3 separate regions of the Homo sapiens genome follow, and regions 1 and 3 are each linked to region 2. The links are contacts of gene promoters, found by promoter capture Hi-C in human tissues and cell types (Jung and others, 2019). All regions are on one chromosome and are shown on one strand. The core of a region is centred on a gene start or on the middle of the fragment in contact, and the rest is flanking DNA. Distances in the headings are between cores, read along the strand shown. Region 1 holds the start of RBCK1 (RANBP2-type and C3HC4-type zinc finger containing 1). Region 2 holds the start of NRSN2 (neurensin 2). Region 3 holds the start of TRIB3 (tribbles pseudokinase 3).

What was found. Contacts are between HindIII fragments. The study calls those that stand out against the background at their distance.
Region 1: the fragment with the promoter of RBCK1 here is called in contact with the fragment with the promoter of NRSN2 in region 2 in 9 of the 25 tissues and cell types used here (H1 embryonic stem cells, IMR-90 fibroblasts, heart left ventricle and 6 more).
Region 3: the fragment with the promoter of TRIB3 here is called in contact with the fragment with the promoter of NRSN2 in region 2 in 6 of the 25 tissues and cell types used here (IMR-90 fibroblasts, adrenal gland, lymphoblastoid cells and 3 more).

What each region holds. Positions count from the first base shown.
Region 1 is chr20:405,800-409,665 of GRCh38, forward strand. RBCK1 (RANBP2-type and C3HC4-type zinc finger containing 1) reads left to right here and starts at 2,500. Exons shown (of 12, transcript NM_031229.4): 1 at 2,500-2,980. The coding sequence starts at 2,959. RefSeq lists silencers at 218-374, 2,198-2,467 and enhancers at 2,445-3,087, 3,038-3,087, 3,088-3,728, 3,138-3,237, 3,298-3,397 and 1 more. The HindIII fragment of the contact is 18,382 bases long and covers 1-3,866 here.
Region 2 is chr20:344,543-348,360 of GRCh38, forward strand. It overlaps NRSN2 (neurensin 2), which reads left to right and starts at 2,569. Exons shown (of 5, transcript NM_001323682.2): 1 at 2,569-2,600; 2 at 2,892-2,970. It overlaps LOC101929937 (serine/arginine repetitive matrix protein 2-like), which reads right to left. Exons shown (of 4, transcript XM_047440635.1): 2 at 3,558-3,818; 3 at 2,877-3,472; 4 at 1,724-2,449. The coding sequence ends at 2,126. RefSeq lists enhancers at 1,341-2,104, 2,105-2,867, 2,868-3,630 and silencers at 2,437-2,856, 2,877-3,406, 3,587-3,676. The HindIII fragment of the contact is 22,559 bases long and covers 1-3,818 here.
Region 3 is chr20:378,572-382,178 of GRCh38, forward strand. TRIB3 (tribbles pseudokinase 3) reads left to right here and starts at 2,189. Exons shown (of 4, transcript NM_021158.5): 1 at 2,189-2,598. RefSeq lists silencers at 2,473-2,632, 2,653-2,762, 3,033-3,607 and an enhancer at 3,308-3,607. The HindIII fragment of the contact is 14,566 bases long and covers 1-3,607 here.

The sequences.
Region 1 (3,866 bases), core at 1,250-3,749, 61 kb after region 2:
TCTAATTTCTATAAAATATCAAGAAGAGGAAAGTCTATAGAGACATAAAGTATATTAGTGCTGTCAGTTGGAGGATGGGAAACAGGGAATGTCTGCTAATGAGTACAGGTCTATTTTGGGGTGATAAGAATGTTCTTTCTTTCTTTTTTTTTTTTTGGTCTGAGACAGAGTCTCGCTCTATCACGCAGGCTGGAGTACAACGGTGCGATCTCAGCTCACTGCAACCTCTGCCTCCCAGGTTCAAGCCATTCTCATGCCTCAGGCTCTGCAGTAGCTAGGATTACAGATGTCCGCCACCACACCTGGCTAATTTTTGTATTTTTAGTAGAGACAGGGTTTCACCATGTTGGCCAGGCTGGTCTCGAACTCCTGACCTCAAGTGATCCGCCCACCTCGGCCTCTCAAAGTGCTGGGATTGTAGGTGTGAGCCACCATGCTCAGCCAAAAATGTCCTAAAATTTGATTGTGATGATGGGTGTACAATTCTGTAAATGTTACTAAAAACTATTGAATTGTATATTTTAGGTGGGTGGATTTTATGGCATATAAATTATATCTCAATAAAGCTGTTTATAAAAAGAACAGCAGTTAGATTGACAGGTGATGATATCTCAATAAAGCTGTTTATAAAAAGAACAGCAGTTAGATTGACAGGTGATGATATCTCAACAGCAACCATTTCCCAGCATTTTGGGAGGCCGAGGTGGGCAGATCATTTGAGCCCAGGAGTTCAAGACCAGCCTGGGCAACATGACCAAACCCTGTCTCTACAAAAATTAGCCAGCTGTGGTGGCACGTGCCCGTGGTTTGCAGCTACTCGGGAAGCTGAGCCCAGGAGTTGGAGGCTGTAGTGAGCCATGATCACGCCACTGCACTCCAGCCTGGGCAACAAGAGTGAAACTCCATCTCAAAAAAAAAAAAAAAAAAAAAAAAGGCTTCCCCAGGCCATTCAAATGTACAGCCAAAGTTAAGAAACATTGTCTAAAGGGATGTGTTTCCGGCAAAAGAAAAATTATCCCAGATGAAGGTCTGAGGTTCATTCCTTCATTCAACATATGGAGCCTCCATTATGTGTTTGGAACTGTTCTAGACACCAGGAACACAGCAGTGAGCAAAACAAACCAAAGTCCCTGCCCTCTAGGAGAGGAAAACAGACCCAGAATAACATAAATAAGTAAAACATGCTCCGTTAGACAGTAATAGATGCTGAGAAGAAAAAATGAAGCCAGGAAAGCGGATGTGAAATGCTGGATACGTGTGTCTGTGAAATTTCAGATGGAGTAACTAGGGAAGATTTTTGGGTAAAGACCAAAATAAAGGGAAGGAGGGAGCCATGCAGACGTTTGGGTTATGGCAGGTGCAAAGGCCTTAGGGCGGGAGTGTGTCTGACTTACTCCAGGACCCAGCAGGTCAATGGGACTTGAGTGGAATGAGGCAGGGGCAGGGCAGTCAGCTACGAAGACAGAGATCGGGAGGCAATTTGCGAGCCCTGGGACAGATCTCGGATTTTGCTTTAAGTGAGATGGGAGTACTTGGGTCGGGGAGTGGCATGGGTTTGATTTACATTTTAACAGGACTCTCCGGCAGCTAGGTGGAAATGGACGGTAGGGGGCAAAAAGAGAAGCAAGGAGGCCCAGGAGGAGGCTGGTTCAAGACCCCTGAGATGATGGAGCACTGATGGAGCTGGAGCGGGATGGGGCCGGAGGAGGTGAGGGATGAGATTCTGCAAGTGGAGCCCGCAGGATCTGCTGATCGATGGGACGAGGAACGGGAGAAAAATTAAAGCGGCGCATGAGGCAGACGAATGCAAACTTCACCAATAGCTCAACGAAAAGACAGACGGTGACCGCTGAGAGGCAGCGTCGGATCTGGGTAAGGGCGGGTTCCTGAGCCTGCCAGGCCTGGATTCAAACCTCGGCTGAGTGGCCTTGGACAGGTCATCAACAAACAGAGCCTTCGTTTATTCATGTGCAAACGGGGCCAAGGACCGGGCCTGCCCCGAGGTATGCCTGAGGCTTGGGTGAGCAGGCGCCGGGCTCGCAGGGCGCGCTCCTAACCCGTCCCCAGCGGCTCGACGCTGTGGATCCCGCCGCCCTCCAGCCCCGGCTCCGGCGCCGACTCCTGCTCAGGCTCCTGCTCCTGCCCCCGGCCCCGCCCCCGGCCCCGGCCCCGGCCCCCGGCCCACCCCGGCCCCGCCCCCAGCCCCCGGCCCCCCCGGCCCCGCCCCCGGCCCCGCCCCGGCCCCGCCCACCCCGCCTGCGGCCCAGCTCCTTCCCGCGGCTCTGCGATGCGGCCCGCAGGGTGACCCGGGCGGGAGTCCGGGGACCCGCGATCAGCCCCGGAGGACGGGGTGGGGTCGCCCCAAACAGGAGCGCCGGGACCGCTGGGACCCCGCACTCGGCGTCCGCCGCCGCCGGGTAGCCGGGCAGTGGAGGTCCCGGATGAGGCGACAATTTTTCCGGCCCCCCCTCCCAGTCCCGCCCCACTTCCGGGGCCGCCACTTTCACTTTCTCTTCCGCCGAAGCCGCTCCCCTTGCGAAGAACTGGGGCCTCCCGGGAGGAGAGAGGGCTTTGCCTTGAAACCCGGGACGCCAGGGGCGCTCCCGCAAGTGGGGGTCCTCCGGGACTTGGAACGCCCCGGCTGGGTGGTGTCCGGGCGTCCTTTCCCCGCTTCTTCCCACCTCGGCTGGTCCCGTTTCCTCCTGCGCCCAGTGCGGACCTGTCTCGGCGCCCGCTGCCCTCTCACCGCCCCACGCAGGATCCCGGCCTGGTCACCGGGCAGTGTGATGCTTCCCGACTGCCGCGGGGACAGCGAGGCACACACAGGGCTTGGGCCGCGCCGGAGGCCACACGGCCTGGCTGAGTTGCTCCTGGTCTCCCGCCTCTCCCAGGCGACCCGGAGGTAGCATTTCCCAGGAGGCACGGTCCCCCCCAGGGGGATGGGCACAGCCACGCCAGATGGACGAGAAGACCAAGAAAGGTGGGCACAGGCTGGAGGTGGCTGGGGAACTTCCGGTGGGAAGTGGGCCCCGCAGGACCTGGCCTTGCCCCTGGCCAGAAGGGCCTTGGAGAGGGGGCTTTAGCCTGCCCTCCCTCTACCCTCCTCCCCATCAGTTTCCTCCTTTGGTACCTGCTGGCTTCCAGAGCCATCTTGGGGCCCTGAGAACTCCTTGGGCTGGCTCTGTGCTGAGATGGGGCTAGGGGACTCGCAGAGGACACAGGGCATTGAACTTGGAGACCTCCTGGGCTGGTGGGAGACAGACGTCAGTTGACCTGAGAAGCAGGGGTACTTGCCTCTTCTCTTGTCCCCTGCACCTAGGGTTGTAGAACGGAAGTCAGTCACTGCCTTGCTGGAAACCCTCCCATGCCCCTCTGTGTTCTCCAAACAAAACCCAGAGGCCCTGGGTGGCCCACAGGATATCTGTCCTCAGTCACCCCGCCATGCTCACTCTACTGGAGCCCCACTGGCTTCCTTCGGTTCTCATCCAACCATTTTTTGGCCAAGGCCCTTACTCTTCCTTCCACCTGGACCACTCTTCCCCACTGGAGCTTGACACGTGCAGCTTCTCCTCCTTCAGGTCTTAGCTTCAGTGTTACCCCCTCCCAGAGGCCTCCCCTGGTCTCCTTAACCTGTTTATTTCCCTGCCAGCAAGGATCGCAATCTGACTTTTTTTTTTTTTCTTGTTAAACTTGTTCATTGTCTCCCCACTGGGCAGGGAGATCCATAAGGAGAGGGGCCCTGTTTATAAATCTCTGTGGGATTCCAGTTCCTGGGACAGTGGGTGGCACACAGTAGAAGCTCAATAACTGCTTGTTGGATAAATGAATAGAAATATGAGGGACCCTGGGAATGGGAAGGACAAACA
Region 2 (3,818 bases), core at 1,319-3,818:
TTTGAGTCTTCAGCTAGGAAGATTTGAAGATTTGAAGGCTGAAGCTGATTCAAATGGCTGGCCACTGGAATCATCTTGTTCTTCCCCTTCCCCTTCGCCTTCTACAGTGCAATGGCATGATGTCGGCTCACTGCAACCTCTGCCTCCCGGGTTCAAGCAATTCTCCTGCCTCATCCTCCCTAGTAGCTGGGATTACAGGTGCACGCCACCATGCCCGGCTATTTTTGTATTTTTAGTAGAGACGGGGTTTTGCCATGTGGCCAGGCTGGTCTCGAACTCCTGAACTCAGGGTATCCACCCGCCTTGGCCTCCCAAAGTGCTGGGATTACAGGTGTGAGCCACCGTGCCTGGCCTCATCTGGTTCTTCTTCACTCACTTCTTTTATGCTTGAACTGGGATGACTCAAAGCTAAGCTTAGCTGGGACTGTGGTGCCTTCATGTGTCCTCTCCTGATGGTCTTGGCATCCTGACAGCATGGCAGCCTCTAAGCAGACATGGAGCCCTAGGTAGGCATGGTGCCTCAGGCTCCAAGAGCTAGAGTTCTAGCAGAAGTTGCCTGTACTTTTATGTCTGGACCTTAGAAGTCAGAGTGTTACTTCCACCGTACTCCATTGGTTGAAGCAGTCATCAGCTCACCCAAGATTCAGAGAGGGTACAAGGATCCCACCTCTCTACAGAGGAGTGCTAAAGAATTTGTAGCTATATTTTAAAACCACCACAGGTTGTTTCCAATCTGTAGCTATTCCTGTAGTTCATTTTACAGGCTAACATCTCTTGAATGTCTTCATTTCTCTGCACCAGGCCAAGACACTGTCATCTCTGATCTCTTTGCTGATCTCTTGCTGTCACTCTTGTGCTCAACATGCTGTTCTCTTGACAGCAGCCAGAGGTCTTTTCAGAATGAAAATCAGATCACATCCCACCCCTCTTCATAACCCTTCCATGGCTCCCCACTACCCTTGGGCTGAAGCTCAAACTCCTTACCTTGGCTTATGAGGCCCCACAAGGTCTCACTTCTGCCTGCCTCTCCAATGCCATCTCCTGTCACCATTTGGGGCCTTTAGTTTTGAGCTGCAAGAGTTCCTCCCATCACACACACACACATACACACACACACACACACTTAAATGAGTAAGTAAATAGAACATACAAAACGCTTAAACACTTTGCACATAGTGAGCATAATAAGTTTGCTACTATTATTAGACTGTCTTCAGTAAATATTTACTGGGCTGCCTACTCAGTGCCAAGCACTATGGGAGGCTCACAGATACAACACGAACAAGAAATATGTGGCCTTGGCCAGACGCGGTGGCTCACGCTTACAATCCCAGCACTTTGGGAGGCCGAGGCAGGTGGATCACTTGAGCTCAGGAGTTCAAGACCAGCCTGGGCATCATGGCAAAACCCTGTCTCTATTAAAAATACAAAAAATTAGCTAGGCATGGTAGTGCGTGCCTGTAGTCCCAGCTCCTCAGGCGACTGAGGTGGGAGGATCACCTGAGCCTTGGGAGATCGAGGCTGCAGTGAGCCGTGATCATGCCACCGCACTCCAGCCTGGACAACAGAGTGAGACGCTGTCTCAAAAAAATAAAAATTAAAAAAAAAGAAAAAGAAAAACTAAAAAGGAAGATGTGGCCCTATCTTGCCGAGCTCATTCTTCTGTGTGTCCCCAGCCCCTAGCACAAGGAGAAACAGAATAGATGCTCAAGACACAAAGGCATGTCTGTGCAAGGGTGCTTGATGACGGTTGGAGGGGCACAATGACTTTCCCAAGATCACACAGCAAATGTGGGACAAAATCAAGGCTGACAGCTCATGACAGGGTGGGAGGCAGATGCAGCTGCCTGGCACAGGCTGGCTCTCCAGGGAGATGGGCAGTGGGCACGCATTGCCCAGGGCAGAACTGGGGCTAGGGGAGGAAACAACAAGGGAGGCTGTCATTAGCTCCTTCCAAAGTGGAGGTCACTTCTCTCCCAACCCCGAGTCCTCCACCCAAACTCCCTTCTCAAGGTACAAGGGCTGATCCCGTACCAGGGATGGGTAGGGACTCAAAGAGGAAAAGAGGATGAAAAGAGGATGGGGACTGAGTGAGATGTGAGGACTCCAGAGGGATTAGCGGCTCTCAAGGCAAGTGGGAGGGGACTTCCCGGTAGGAGCCCGGAGACAGATGGGAGCCTGTGAAGAGGGCGGGGGCCCGGCGAGGAGAAGCGGTTTCTACGCTGGGGTGGGGCTCCATGAGGGGGATGGAGACCTGGAAAAGGGACTGACGGTGCAGCGAGGAGAGGAAGGCTCGGTTAAGGGATGGGTCTTCCACGGGAGGGGTGGGGAACTGCGGGAGTGACGGCAGCTTCGGTGAGGAGTCTGAGGGGCTGCGTGAGGGGCTGGGGCCCAGGGAGTCCGAGGGGTCTCTGTGAGGGCGCTGGGGTGTCCGAGCGAGCAGGGAACTCTGGAAGGGGACAGGAGCCGGGGGAGCTGCAGGCGGCCGCCGTCTGCAGAGCCAGGCCCTGAGGCGGGCCGGCGCCCCCTCCCCCGCCCCGAACTGCGGCGCAGGCGCGAACCGGACCCGCCTTTGCTCGGCGGAGACAGCAGGCAGAGAGGTGAGCTTAGCCCTGCCCCACGCGCGGCCAGGCCCCAGCCCCAGCCCCTGGAGAACCCCCGCGCTCTGCCCGCATCCTCAGCCCGGGCCGTGTCCCGCCAGGGCCGGGACCTTTGCGCCTGAGCCTCGGCTTTGGGAGGTGGGGGTCCCAGGGAAGCAGCAGGGGCGGGAGACAGAAACAGCCCCATCGCCCCTCGACGCCTCAGGGTTGATAGGCTGGGTAGAGGCTTCAAAGGACACCCCCACCCCCGCCAACACTTCAAAAACCCATTCCTACCCCTCTCTGCCTCAGTTTCTCTCTAGGGAAAAGGACGCAGTTGGTGTGGAGCAGGGCATCGGTGGTCCTGTCAGGAAGAGTGGCGCGGGTGCCGGTGGGGAAGGGAGGCGGGAAATGGCCTGATTTCCCCGGCCGACACCCCCTACCCATCCCCCCCGGGAGGGCGCCCCTTCTCCCCCGCCCGGGCAGCGCTGGACGCTGTAGTGGGCGAGTCTGAGGGTCTGGGAAGGACACAACTGAATGAGGCTGTGCAGAGGCGACAGATTCCGTCCATCTTCGGGCCCTGGCTTCCGTCACTTCCGCCCGTGCCTGCCGCCCCTCGCCTCCTCCCTCCGCCGCAGTCTCCCCACGTCGGACAGCGCAGCCCCCTCCGCCTCCCGCTCCCCTCCCACCGAGCTCCTCCCGGCTCCCGGGCTGGGGACGCCTCCCTAGCGGTTCCCATGGCAACCCTCGTCCCGGGTGCCTGCGCCCCGCCCCCCGCCCGCCAGACCTACTCCGTGCAGCCCTGAAACGCCAGGCGGAGGGGCCAGGCCGAGCGGGAGGCAGCGTCAAGGTCACCTTCCCTCTCCAGTAGCAGCAGGACTGAGTGATTCCATCTATTTGGAGTCGCGGAAGCGGTGAATTGGAGGGGAGGAGCTGACCCAGGTCAACAGCCCCGAAGCCCCCTCCACACCTCCTCACCTGTGGCCTTGAACAGTGGTCTCCGCACGGAGGCTCCTACCGTCCCCCAGGCCCCATTTCTTCTCCCCACCCGGGCCTCCCCAGCGCCTCGCCGGGGCGGGTACCGCGCTGGCCGCACCCTCCGCACAGCCCGCCCCGCCCGCCTCCTCCGGCGAGCCCTCCTCTCCAGACCTCTCGCCCTCCTCCTCCGACGGTCCTTCGCTTTCAGTCTCTGCCTTTTCCCGTTCTCTGTCGTGGCTTTTGTTGTTGTTGTTTTTCCTC
Region 3 (3,607 bases), core at 939-3,438, 34 kb after region 2:
AATGCCCTGGTATACCCTGAAGGCTCTGGGACACAGGTGAGCTGGTCCCCAGGGATTTGGAAACAGGAAAACAAATATGACTCCACCCTGCCTCCCATCCAGCCTCTGCCTAGAGGAGTTATTTTATTTTATTTTACTTTTTTTTTTTTTTTGAGACGGAGTCTTGCTCTGTCGCCCAGGCTGGAGTGCAATGGCGCAATCTCAGCTCATTGCAACTCCTGCCTCCTGGGTTCAAGCGATTCTCCTGCCTCAGCCTCCCGAGTAGCTGGGACTACAGGTGTGTTTTTTGTATTTTTAGTAATTTTTTGTACTTTTAGTAGAAACGGGTTTCACCGTGTTAGCCAGGATGGTCTTGATCTCCCGACCTCGTGATCCACCTGCCTCAGCCTCCCAAAGTGCTGGGATTACAGGCATAAGCCACCACGCCCAGCCTCTAGAGGAGTTATTTTACTTACTTACTTATTTATTTATTACACAGGATCTCACTCTGTCACCCAACCTGGAGTGCAGTGGCACAATCACGTTTCACTGTAACCTGAACTCCTGGGCTCAAGTGATCCTCCTACCTCAGCTTCCTAAGTAGCTGGGACCACAAGCTCGTACCACCATGCCCGCTATCTTTTTCTCTTTGTAAAGACAGGGTCTTACTATGTCATCCAGGCTGTTCTCAAACTCCTGGCCTCAAGCAATCCTCCCGTCTTGGCCTCCCAAAGTGCTAGGATTACAGACATGAGCCAGCTCACCCAGCTGAGGAGTTATTTTTTGACACTGGTGAATTCAGATCAAAAGGGATTTCTAAGAAAGGTGCTGGACCCAGGCCGGGCGCGGTGGCTCATGCCTGTAATCTCAGCACTTTGGGAGGCCGAGGCAGGTGGATTATCTGAGGTCAGGAGTTCGAGACCAGCCTGACCAACATGGAGAAACCCTGTCTCTACTAAAAATACAAAATTAGCCAGGCATAGTAGCGCATGCCTGTAATCCCAGCTACTTGGGAGGCTGAGGCAGGAGAATCGCTTGAACCCGGGAGGTGGAGGTTGCAGTGAGCCGAGATCGTGCCATCGCACTCAATCCTGGGCAACGAGTGAAACTCTGCCTCAAAAAAAGAAAAAAAAAGAAAGGTGCTGGACGCCTAGGACGCAGAGGGGTGTTTCACCCCAAATCAAGTAGCACCAAGCCCTCCCAGGCCTTGGGTGCAAGCATATTAAAGGCCTCTTTCCCTCTCTGTCTCCATTGTTTACACTCCACTGAGCATCCGCAATGTGCCACACACTGTTCTAAGCGTCTTACACATATTAAATTATTTAATCCTCACAACAACTTTATGAAGTGAGCGCAATTATGAGCCCATTTTATGGAGCAGGAAGTTGAGGCAGGGTTTTAGGTAGCTTTTCTGGGGTAGCACTGTGGGTTGGAGCGGAGGTGGAGTGCACTCTTAGGCCAGCTGGCTCTAGGGGCTCTTCACCACTAGGCCGCACTGCCTCTAGCAAAGGGACGCGGGGAAGCTCAGCAGACCTTAGGCCTCCCAAGGGCGCCACGGTGGTTCCTTTGAGCCCAGAGTCAGCTCTTAAGTCCATAGGCCTTCCTGAAGCTTCTGAACCACTTGCCCATAGCTGGGCCTCAGGCTGGCTCTCAGTAGAATGTGGAGAATGGAGATTCCCGCATGTCCACTTCTCCTAAAGGTTTTATAAGGCAGTGCTGGGAATGTGCTTTATAAAAAAGGGGAAGCACCCCGACAACAGTCACTGTTTGCTCTTTTAAGCACCATCCTGAGAAGGAGGAATGTTCTTCCCATTTCATAGGTGGGGAAACCGAGGCTCAGAAGAGCAAATTTTTGGCCGGGCGCGGTGGCTCACGCCTGTAATCCCAGCACTTTGGGAGGCCGAGGCGGGTGGATCACGAGGTCAGGAGATCGAGACCATCCTGGCTAACAAGGTGAAACCCCGTCTCTACTAAAAATACAAAAAATTAGCCGGGCGTGGTGCGGGCGCCTGTAGTCCCAGCTACTCGGGAGGCTGAGGCAGGAGAATGGCGTGAACCCGGGAGGCGGAGCTTGCAGTGAGCCGAGATCGCGCCACCGCCCTCCAGCCTGGGCGACAGAGCAAGACTCTGTCTCAAAAAAAAAAAAAAAAAGAGCAAATTTTTTTTCCAAGGTGATAGGGAGAGTCCGTGGCTGATGTCTGCACTGACCAGACGCCCCTAGGGGGCCAGCGAGGGCGGGTCCCAGGTGCAGCGGATGCAGAGGAGAGAGGCCCGGGCGCGGCGCGGGGGATGGTGCGATCCCGGGCCCGAGGGCATCAGACGGCGGCTGATTAGCTCCGGTTTGCATCACCCGGACCGGGGGATTAGCTCCGGTTTGCATCACCCGGACCGGGGGATTAGCTCCGGTTTGCATCACCCGGACCGGGGGCCGGGCGCGCACGAGACTCGCAGCGGAAGTGGAGGCGGCTCCGCGCGCGTCCGCTGCTAGGACCCGGGCAGGGCTGGAGCTGGGCTGGGATCCCGAGCTCGGCAGCAGCGCAGCGGGCCGGCCCACCTGCTGGTGCCCTGGAGGCTCTGAGCCCCGGCGGCGCCCGGGCCCACGCGGAACGACGGGGCGAGGTACTCGGCGGGGTGCGGCCTGCGGACTCGCCCGGAGGCCGGGGGGCGGGAGGGGGCGGCCGGGGAAGGGGGCGCCGGAAGCCTCTGGGCGTCTGCGTGTTGCCGCGTGTTACACGCACGCACGCCCCTTACACACCTTTTCACAGACCCCGCCGTCGGGGCGCGGCCAGGTCAGATCCCTTTTGATCCGGGCCTGGGCTGAGTGCTCCCCCCGGGCTTCAGGTGACGCGGCCCCGCGGAGCGTGGGGTCGCCCGAGTTGGGCTGGGGAAGCCAGGGACGGAGGTGTCCGGCCGTCACCCCTAGAGGAGGGCGTGCGGGGGTCTGTTTTGCGTGAGTGCGGGATAGGGGAGTCGTGTGGTGCGGTGAGGGGCTTGTGGGGGGCACTGGAGGACTCTGGGGGTGGCGGGGGATCCGAGGGGGTCCTCGTGAACCCGCAGGGGAGAGTCCTGGGTGAGGGTGGGTCCCGAGCACCTGTGTCTCAGGAGATGGTGAGAGCTGTCTGGAGGGCTGGGCACTTGGTGGCAGGGGTTGGCGGTGCAGGGGACACCGCCGGGACAGGGCTGGGGTGCCCTGGAGCGGGGGAGCCGAGGGAGTGGGAGCGGGGGCGCAGCGCGCGATCTCTGGCCCGGCAGGGCCGCTGGTTCTCCCCAGTGCGCGGCTCCGGGTTTGCAGGTGGACGGTGCGCGCGTGTCTGCGGTGTGTGCTGTGCCTGCAGACCGGGGAGGGCGGGGGACGACAGCCACCTCCTTCCCTCTGCCTCACCCCCCTCCTGTCCCAGGGCCGCGCTTCAATTTCCGCTGAAACTTCTGACTCGGACACCCGCCGCCTTTCGCTTGGGCTCCCACGGGAGGGGCCTGGCTGCGGGGGGCGGGGCGGGGTGGGGGTGCGGCCTTGCTCGGGTAGACCATGGGTGTGACAGCTGGGAGGGCTGTGTGTGTGTGTGTGTGTGTGTGTGTGCGTGCGCGCGCGCGCTTGCGCTTGATGTAACCCGCCCTCATTTCCCTGGGT